3 separate regions of the Homo sapiens genome follow, and regions 1 and 3 are each linked to region 2. Evidence: promoter capture Hi-C in human tissues and cell types (Jung and others, 2019). All regions are on one chromosome and are shown on one strand. Each heading gives the region's core, a stretch centred on a gene start or on the middle of the fragment in contact. The rest is flanking DNA. Distances are from core to core; before and after follow the strand shown. Region 1 overlaps MORC2 (MORC family CW-type zinc finger 2). Region 2 holds the start of LIMK2 (LIM domain kinase 2). Region 3 has its middle 16 kb from the start of PISD.

The links. The method cuts DNA at HindIII sites, captures the fragments that hold promoters and counts their contacts. A contact is called where the count stands out against the background at its distance.
Region 1: a contact is called between a fragment that was not itself captured here and the fragment with the promoter of LIMK2 in region 2, in 1 of the 25 tissues and cell types used here (dorsolateral prefrontal cortex).
Region 3: a contact is called between a fragment that was not itself captured here and the fragment with the promoter of LIMK2 in region 2, in 1 of the 25 tissues and cell types used here (spleen).

The regions. Positions count from the first base shown.
Region 1 is chr22:30,927,453-30,930,706 of GRCh38, forward strand. It overlaps MORC2 (MORC family CW-type zinc finger 2), which reads right to left. Exons shown (of 26, transcript NM_001303256.3): 25 at 567-755. Among named protein-coding and RNA genes, the nearest start is that of MORC2-AS1, 6.8 kb to the left of the region's middle. The HindIII fragment of the contact is 7,715 bases long and covers 1-3,254 here.
Region 2 is chr22:31,210,992-31,214,110 of GRCh38, forward strand. LIMK2 (LIM domain kinase 2) reads left to right here and starts at 1,307. Exons shown (of 16, transcript NM_005569.4): 1 at 1,307-1,433. The coding sequence starts at 1,418. RefSeq lists enhancers at 848-1,027, 1,990-2,915 and a silencer at 1,008-1,407. The HindIII fragment of the contact is 2,868 bases long and covers 1-2,597 here.
Region 3 is chr22:31,676,528-31,679,558 of GRCh38, forward strand. No RefSeq gene overlaps it. Among named protein-coding and RNA genes, the nearest start is that of PISD, 16 kb to the left of the region's middle. The HindIII fragment of the contact is 6,331 bases long and covers 1-3,031 here.

The DNA.
Region 1 (3,254 bases), core at 270-2,769, 280 kb before region 2:
TTGCATGACTGGCTTCCAGTGTCTCCAAATGCCTAAGCCCCTGAACACCCTAGTCAAGTGGCCTCCCCACACTTTACTGTATCTCCTTATGAACCACCATCAGTAATTCTCTCTCTTCCACCAGACTGGCAGGCTGTGAGAGCAGGAACCTTCTCTGGCTTGTCTTGTTCATTCTGTATCCACAGGACAGGCACAGAGCAGGCCCTCATGCTTATTGCCTGGATGAAGGGCCAACAGGCTAAGGGGTGCTCCCCACTTCTGGGCTACCCAATCCCATCTGGGCGTCATGTGGAAAAGAACTTCGTTTTTATGGCTTGGAGGGTTCTCAAACCAGGTTGTACGTCGGAATGTCTAAAGGGAAAAAGCCTGGTTCTATGGGTCTGGCTGGGCTGAGGACCAGGCAGCCACACCATCTCAAGCCCTCCTGCCAGGGTGCTGTGCAGCCAGGGTGAGAACCATAGATTCCTGTGAGTGGATAGATTCTTGTGAGAACAGGAACAGGGCCCAGGCCCCCCTCCCTGAGAGACCAGGTGGTCCAGCTGCAACAGGAAGGCTGCCGGGCTCACCTCCTGCACCTTTTGCAGGAGTGCCACGATGTTGGTCCTCAGCTTCTGCAGCTTCTCCTCCGTCTCGCGGAGCTTCCTCTCGGAGGTGCGCAGGCTTTCCTCGGAGGCCTTGGCCCGGGAGTCAGCACGGCTCTGGTAGGAATTGCACAGGTTTTGGAGCCCTACTTCATATTGCTTGAAGTACTCCTTCTGTTGGGAGCAGAGCAAGAGGGAGAGTGTGTAAGTTCACAGGGGTCCCCAGGGCCCTTCTAGGCTGACACGGGTGTCTCCAGCCCGCTTTACCCAAGGATGCCTGGTCTGAAGGAACATCTTAGATACAAAGGGCAAACAGCCTCTTTACGTCCAGAGTAGAGAGACATCAATGCCTATCTTGTGGGGCTGCCACAAGGAAGAAGACAATTAGCACACAGGTGAAGCACTCAGCACAGTGCTCTGGCAGACAGCAGGCCGTGAGGACGCGTGAGGGGCGATTCTTACCATTCCAAGTGACAAAAAAGGATGACAGAATCGCTCTTCCATGCTCAATCATAACCTGTCTGACTTCAGTACAGCCCTTTCAACCACCCACTTCCAAGACATACCCAACAATGTCAGCGCTCATGTCAGTTCTCTTTCCACCTACCAACCAACAGCAGATATCTCCAGATCTGTGGAGTAGTATATACTTCTACAGCATCAGAGCTTTTTACTATTTTCCCTGAGTACCTGAAACCTCCAGGGGGAGAGGTAGGAAGGGAAACAAGCAGTTTTTCTAGTGGCTTTTCAGACTTATAAAAGGGAGCAGAATACTTGTTTCAAATGAAATGTCACATGGAATCTCAGTGTGAAAAACAATGTTAAGTAGTATCTCTTTAGGTTCAATTTATTTTCCAAGTTCAAATTTATAACATGACTTACTCGTAAATCACTGAGAATCATGAGGCCACTGTGATGAACACACACGCCACAACCAGCAGGTGCTAGCTGGCTGCTGCAGTCTTATCAACTCTGGTGTTTACTTCTGTAAAGATGCATTAGCTGCCTAGCCTGGAGAGGCTTCTAGATGCCATTTTTAAAAACTGTTACTGGCAAGTATTTAACTGTGTCATTCACCTTATCCTACTAAACCAAGATAGCAAGAGAAACTTCTAGTTCTACACAAAACAGTAATTGCCTTGGCAGCACAAAATAAATACTGGAGCAATCTCCAAAGTATTAAAATTCAGTATACAACATCTTGAAAGTAGACATGGTTTGTAATAATTTTTTCTTAATTATTTTGAGGTAACTGTAGATTCACATATAATTGTTACATTAGTTTTTTTGAAAAAATGATACTTTAATATTGCAGGGCTCCTGAGGCTCTATGGAACTCCTGATCCATATGGTATAAAGGACGTAACTGACAAGGACATAATGAACAGTAGACTTTGTTTTATCCCTGATGCTAAAAAAATAGTTTGAGTGATGGCCAGGCGTGGTGCCTCACACCTGTAATCCCAGCACTTTGGGAGGCCGAGGCAGGTGGATCACGAGGTCAGGAGATCGAGACCATCCTGGCTAACACGGTGAAACCCCATCTCTACTAAAAATATAAAAAATTAGCCAGGCGTGGTGGCGGGTGCCTGTAGTCCCAGCTACTCAGGAGGCTGAGGCAGGAGGCTGAGGCAGGAGAATGGTGTGAACCCGGGAGGCAGAGCTGGCAGTGAGCCGAGATTGCGCCACTGCACTCTAGTCTGGGCAACAGAACGAGACTCTGTCTCAAAAAAAAAAATAGTTTGAGTGATTTTAGACATTACAATTAGCAGGACAAAGGTGATACACTGGTATTATACCTCCTTGTACAAAAAGAAGCTAATATACTTTTTTTTTGACACAGTCTCGCTCTGTCACCCAGGCTGGAGTCCAGTGGCACAATTTCAGCTTACTACAACCTCTGCCTTTCCCCGGGTTCAAGCGATTTTCATGCCTCGGCCTCCCAAGTAGCTGGGATTACAGGCATGCACCACAACATCTGGCTAATATTTTTTGTACGTTGTAGTAGAGATGGGGTTTCACCATATTGGCCAGGCTGGTCTCAAACTCCTGGCCTCAAGTGATCCACCTTCCTCAGCCTCCCAAAGTGCTGGGATTACAGGCCTGAGCCTCCACACCCAGCCTAATATACTATTTTTAGACACTCATGCACTTTGTTTGGGCCCAGGCATTCAAGCCCACTGCAGAGATCCTGCTGCACCCAGGCTCTACTCTGAGTTTGGCAATAACCTTAAACCAAAATCAACAAATCTGACAAGATGCCAGGCCAACCTAGCCACCCTATTAGCTGCTTGTTCCTCCTGGGATTTGCAGAGAGCACCTGCAGCCTAAACAAGGACAAAAGTTGAAGCATGGATCTTTCTGTGCAGCAGCTGTGATTTCTGCACCTTCTAGCTCCCTCGCCGAGCACCACTCCCTCATATCTTGCTGGCAGAGCAAGGCAGCATCGTGAGCAGAGCAAGTCCTAAGAAGTACATGGGTTCAAATCTGGTCTCTGTCACTGACCAACAGACTCTTTACCTTTCTGAGCCTTAGTTTCTTCAACTCCTGCTTCATTTCACATTTTAAAAAGTAGAATAAAGACAAACTCCATGTTTTTATCTCTGGCAAACTTTATCAAGCACACAACTGCCCCACGAGGACCCGACATCTTGAATATACTAATCCTGCAGT
Region 2 (3,119 bases), core at 57-2,556:
GTTTGAATTAGAGCAGGAAGGAAGAGAATTGTGCTCGCCTTTGTCTTTGCCTTTGCCTTTGCTTACCCAACTGCTGGGACCAGAGGCAGCTGGGTTGAACTTTGTCTTTGGTCAGGGGTGGGGGTGGAGGGGACAGAATCCATTTCCCTGGGCTCCATCCTCTTTCTGGTCATTTGGACATGTTTCCTGTGATCTAAATCTGATGTAAGGAAATGACAATTGTGAAAGACCCAGCGTGAGAGAATCTGATGGGAGGGTGGGTCATCAGGGACCAGCTGGCCTGGCTGATGATGTATTAATATCTTAATCACACAGAGGACCCCAATCTCCTTCCAAACCTAATGAGCGGAAGTGGTTCTCAAAGCTACTCAGCCAGCTAGCAGCTGCCATAACCCAGTCAGCTGTCCTAACTCTTAGTCCTGTAATCCCTCCTCCTCATAGAAGATTGTAAACTGGCAGCCCACAGGGCAAATCTAGTGGCCAGGTGTGTTTCATTTGGTCTACATGGCATTTTAAGAACTTTTTGATGCTATCAACATTTTTTAAAAGTGGCAAATTTCACCTAAATATCTGGATTTTTGGCATGTTTTGAAAGGTTGGAAGACCTGGGAATGGTAGGCCCATGTTCCTGCAGGGGAGTGCTCGTCTTCCAATGCGGCGCACAAGCTCCAGCGTCCTGCGCTAAACCTAATTGGCCTGGCTGAGGATCTGCTCCTGGAATGCTGGTTGGTCGCCTCCAACTGTCTTTGACTTAGAGATTATTTACTGTCAGCTTACTCATAGTGGCGCAGAGAAGTGGTTTCTCTGAGCTAGAAGCTTCTAAGAAAAGTCCATCCTCAAAGCTGTTTGTGGGATAGACCTGGCTCCTCCATTGTAATATTCCTGATTCCAAACACTACTGGAAAGAGCTCTGAACTGGCAGTTAGCAGGCCTGGGCTCCCATCCCGGCTCTCCTCCTAATGAGCGAAGCCATTTCAATGTAGTCGAACTTAGCCTCTGATCCTTAACTTTCCCTATCTGTAAATGAGGGCGACTAGATGGGTGCGGACTGTCATCCGTGTTGAGACTTCCGGCCCCCGCAGAATCAACCTTACCGGCGGGAGCACCTCGAGGGGACGCCGCTCGCACTAGGGGGCGCCAGGGCCGCTGCAGAGCCCGAGCCAGAGCCAGGGGGCGGGGCCGCGTCTCGGGAGCGAGGCCTGAGAGCGGCGGGGCGGGGCGTCGGCGGGCAGTCCCCTGTGCCAGGTGTGGTTTGGTCCTCCCAGGGCGCCGTAGGCGGTGCATCCCGTTCGCGCCTGGGGCTGTGGTCTTCCCGCGCCTGAGGCGGCGGCGGCAGGAGCTGAGGGGAGTTGTAGGGAACTGAGGGGAGCTGCTGTGTCCCCCGCCTCCTCCTCCCCATTTCCGCGCTCCCGGGACCATGTCCGCGCTGGCGGGTAAGGAAGGGCTGCTCCGCCCTGTCCCGCTGTTATCTCCGAAGTCCGGTTCCATGGCGCCTGAGGGAAACCGGCTGTCTCTCGGGGGTTTCGGGCTGGTTGGGTCCTCGTGGGTCCGAGCTCCTCAGAAAAGCTGGGAGGCGGGGTGGGCACAGCGCTCCCCAGGCATTTGGAGGGTGGGACTCCGGGAATGGGGAGGCAGGGCATCCTGGAGACAGAGGGCTCCGAGGGGCAGGCGGGTTGGGAGGCTTCCCGCGAGTTGAGGTCCCGGGGAGGAAGAGATTCTGGGTCTGCCAGGAATCCAGCTTTTTGGAGGGACCTGGCGGCCGCAGACCCCCAAATTAACCCTTTTTAAGGAAGTTGAAAAGCATGGGGTTCTCTTATAGTGGAAGCTCTGTGGAATTTGAGGAGTACAGGATCCTCTAGGGTTCAGGACAATTAGGAGAGTTACCCCGGGTTCTGGGTTTTCTGAGGGAAATGGAGGATGTGACTTCCCTGCCAAGACCCAAGGCTTCTCGCGGGCATCTTGGTGTCTGGGAGTCCCCCGGGGCTGGGAGCTCTTTGCAGAAAATAAGGGAGTATGGAGCCCCTTGAGGTTTAGGACAGGACTAAGGGTAAGGAGAGATCGGACCATTCTTTTTGGGGCCCAAAGATCTCTGCTACAGGTGGCGAAAGTAGGCCACCTGGGGTTCTGAGTCCTCCTGTGGAAGCTCCCTTGGCCTCTCTAGACTAAAGACTAGAGGGATTCGGCCAAACACCTCCTGGAAGGAAGAGTTGTCTAAGGGTGAAGGGTAGCTTCAGAGTTGGGTTAGTTGCACCTGCAGTCACCTCCCCGCCACCTCACACACCACCCTGCAGCTTCCTGCCTTCCCCATCTTTTCCCCCAGCAGTAGGAACCTTCTGTCTCCTATGTTTCCCAGCCACCTGTGTGGGTGGCCCACCTCTGGGTCCACCAGGGTCAGCGTCCAGAAGCTTTGGAGAGGCGGCAAGAGGGTATTGAGGTGGAGGGGGGCTGGCTATCTGCCCCCTGCTTCCTGGCTTTCCGTCTGTGGACAGTCACTTCCTTCATCTTGAATGCAAGGACTGGGCTACCAGTGGGTCACTTCCTCAGCAAGGGAGCATGGGATTTTCTCTTCACTGGTGATAACAGACTTCTGGAGAGAGCTAGGGGTGGAAATGCCTAAAACAAATTTTTTTAGGCTGGGCGTGGTGGCTCATGCCTGTAATCCCAGCACTTTGGGAGGGCAGGGCAGGAGGATCGCTTGAGTCCAGGAGTTTGAGACCAGCTTGGGCAATATAGCGAGACTTCATCTCTTAAAAACAAAACCTTGTCTCTTAAAAAAGATTTTTTTTAAGCTTACAGAGTCCTTCAACTCGAATGATTTCCAGTAACTTTTTTTTTTTTTTCTTAGATGGAGTCTTGCTCTGTCGCCCAGGCTGGGGTGCAGTGGCACAATCTTGGCTCATTGCAACCTCTGCCTCCCGGGTTCAAGCGATTCTCCTACCTCAGCCTCCCGAGTAGCTGGGACAACAGGGGCCCGCCACCACGCCCGGCTAATTTTTTTGGTATATTTAGTAGAGATGGGGTTTCACCATATTGGCCAGGCTGGTCTTGAACTCCTGACCTTGTGATCCGCCCGCTTCGGCCTCCCAAAGTGCTGGGATTACAGGCGTGAGCCACCGCAC
Region 3 (3,031 bases), core at 139-2,638, 470 kb after region 2:
AGTCTTTCTCCCAGGCTGGAGTGCAGTGGCGCGACCTCGGCTCACGGCACCTACAGTCTCCCGAGTTCAAGCGATTCTTCTGCCTCAGCTTCCCGAGTAGCTGGGATTACAGGCGCGCGCCACCACTCCCGGCTAATTTTTTGTATTTTTAGTAGAGTCACCAGGTTGGCCAGGCCTGTCTCAAGTGATCCGCCCGCCTCTGCCTCCCAAAGTGCTGGGATTACAGGCTTGAGTCACCGCGCCCGGCCCACGTGGCGAGTCTTAACCACGTGACCCTCCCCGCTCTCCAGCCCGGCAGGTACCAGCAAAGGACTAGCAGCCTCCTCCAATATGGATAGCTTCTCGGATGGCCCCGCCCCTCCGGAGAGCTGCAGCCAATCAGACGGCGTGAGGCCAGCAGTGGGTGCGGCTGCGCTTGGCGCTGCGCATATCCGAATACCAGGAAGTGCCCGGTTTCGCTGTCAGTGCTCGGGCAGCTAGAATCCAGGTCCCTTGAGGAATAATTTAAGAAGGGGTGGAGAAAAATTAGGGGGCGTCTTCAAATATTCAGAGAGTCAGCGAGGTAAAGAGGACTTGGGCAGGTCTGTGTAGCAACGGGGGCGGGAATCATTCATTGACGCATGAAGTATTTCCTGAGCTCCCACCACGTAAGACCAAGTTTTGTTCTAGATGTCCGAGGGGCCAGAGTGAATATAGCAAAGTCTTTGACCTCAAGGAGCTTAACGTGAATAATATGGGGACGTGGTGGTGTTAAAAAATATATAAAACAGGCCGGGTGCCGTGGCTCACGCCTGTAATCCCAGCTCTTTGGGAGGCCAAGGCGGGTGGATCACGAGGTCAGGAGATCGAGACCATCTTGGCTAACGCGGTGAAACCCCATCTCTACTAAAAATACAAAAAATAAGCCGGGCGTGGTGGTGGGCGCCTGTAGTCCCAGCTACTCTGGAGGCTGAGGCAGTAGAATGGCGTGAACTCAGAAGGTGGAGCTTGCAGTGAGCCGAGATCGCGCCACTGCACTCCAGCCTGGGCGACAGAGCGAGAATCCGCCTCAAAAAAAAAAAAAAAAAAAAAAAAAAAATATATATATATATATATATATATATATATCACCGACCGGGCGCGGTGGCTGACGCCTGGAATCCCAGCACTTTGGGAGGCCGAGGCGGGTGGATCACTTGAGGTCAGGAGTTCGAGACCAGCCTAGCCAACATGGTGAAACCCCTTCTCTACTAAAAATACAAAAATTAGCCGGGCATCATGGCGGGCGCCTGTGATCTCAGCTACTTGAGAGGCTGAGGCAGGAGAATCGCTTGAACCCGGGGTGGAGGTTGCTGTGAGTCTTGATCACACCACTGCACTCCAGCCTGGGCGACAGAGTGAGACTCTGTCTCAAAAAAAGAAAAAAAAATCTTTCTCTTATCTCGCACACCATAAGGAGGACATATAATGGGAGGCAGTACACTTCCCAGTAGAGGGATCTGGAAAGGCACATATCTGAATACAGTAACTGAAGGAACCATGTAGAAATGTGAGAGAAGGGCATCACTGTCGGCACAGGCAGCAAGTGCACACGTATCATGAGATCCGAGCAAGGAAAAGCCAAGTGTCGGTGTGGAAGTTGTATTCAGATTGCTTCTACCTCCTCAGTGAAATGCGAAGGAAAACTATCAGCTGTGGATAAGGAAGGAGGAGGGACTGGTGGTTTGAGAAAGATGTCATGAAGGACTCACTTATGACCCTGTAAGTTGAAGAATTATGAATTTTCTAGAACACTTTTTAAAAAAGAGAAATCTGGCCGAGTGCTGTGGCTCATGCTCGTAATCCCAGCACTTTGGGAGGCCGAGGCGGGTGGGTCATCTGAGGTCAGGAGTTCGAGATTAGCCTGGCCAACATGGTGAAATCCCGTCTCTAGTAAAAATACAAAAATTATCCGGACGTGGTGATGCACACCTGTAGTCCCAGCTACTTGGGAGGCTAAGGGAGGAGAATCACTTGAACCTGGGAGGCAGAGGTTGCAGTGAGCCGAGATCGCACCACTGCACTTCAGCCAGAGGGACAGAGTGAGACTCTGTCTCAAAAAAATAATAAGATAAAAAGGAGAAATCCCAGAATGAACCGCAGAATTGTGATATTGGCCAGGTGCAGTGGCTCACACCTGTAATCCCAGCACTTTGGGAGGCCAAAGTGAAAGAACTGCTTGAAGGTCGGAGTTAGAAACCAGCCTGGGCAATGTAACAAGACCTTGCTTCTATAGAAAATAAAAAGTTAGCCTGGTGTCATGGCACTGTGGTCTCAGCTACTCAGGAGGCTGAGGCAGGAGGATGGCTTGAGCCCAGGAGTTCCAAGGTTGCAATGAGCCGTGATCATGCCACTGCTCTCCAGCGTGGGTGATAGAGCGTGACGGTCTCAAAGGTGGAGTGGTGGCGGGGGAGGTCAAGCGCGGTGGCTCATGCCTGTAATCCCAGTACTTTGGAAGGCCAAGGCAGGAGATCACTTGAGACCAGCCTGGGCAACATAGTGAGACCCTGTCTCTTCCAAAAAATAATTAGTTGGGCTTGGTGGCATATGACTGTAGTCCCAGCTACTTGGGAAGCTGAGGTAGGAGGATCTCTTGAGCCAGGAAGTTCGAGGCTACAGTGAGCTAAGTTGTGATTGTGCTACTGCACTCAGGCTAGGCGAAAGTGAGACTGTTTCAAAAAAAAAAAAGGGAAAGTAAATAGAAATGTGTTTTCCATTGCTGGAAGAGGACAGGACACCACAGAGAGGATTCTTTTTTTTTTTTTTTTTTTTTTGAGACAGGGTCTCGCTCTTTCGCCCAGGCTGGAGTGCGGTGGTGCGATCTCAGCTTACTGCAAGCTCCGCCTCCCGGGTTCACACCATTCTCCTGCCTCAGCCTCCTGAGTAGTTGGGACTACAGGCACCCGCCACCCCGCCCGGCTAATTTTTTTGTATTTTTAGTAGAGACGGGGTTTCACCATGTTAGCCAGGATGGTCTCGATCTCCTGACCTCATGATCTGCCTGCCTCGGCCT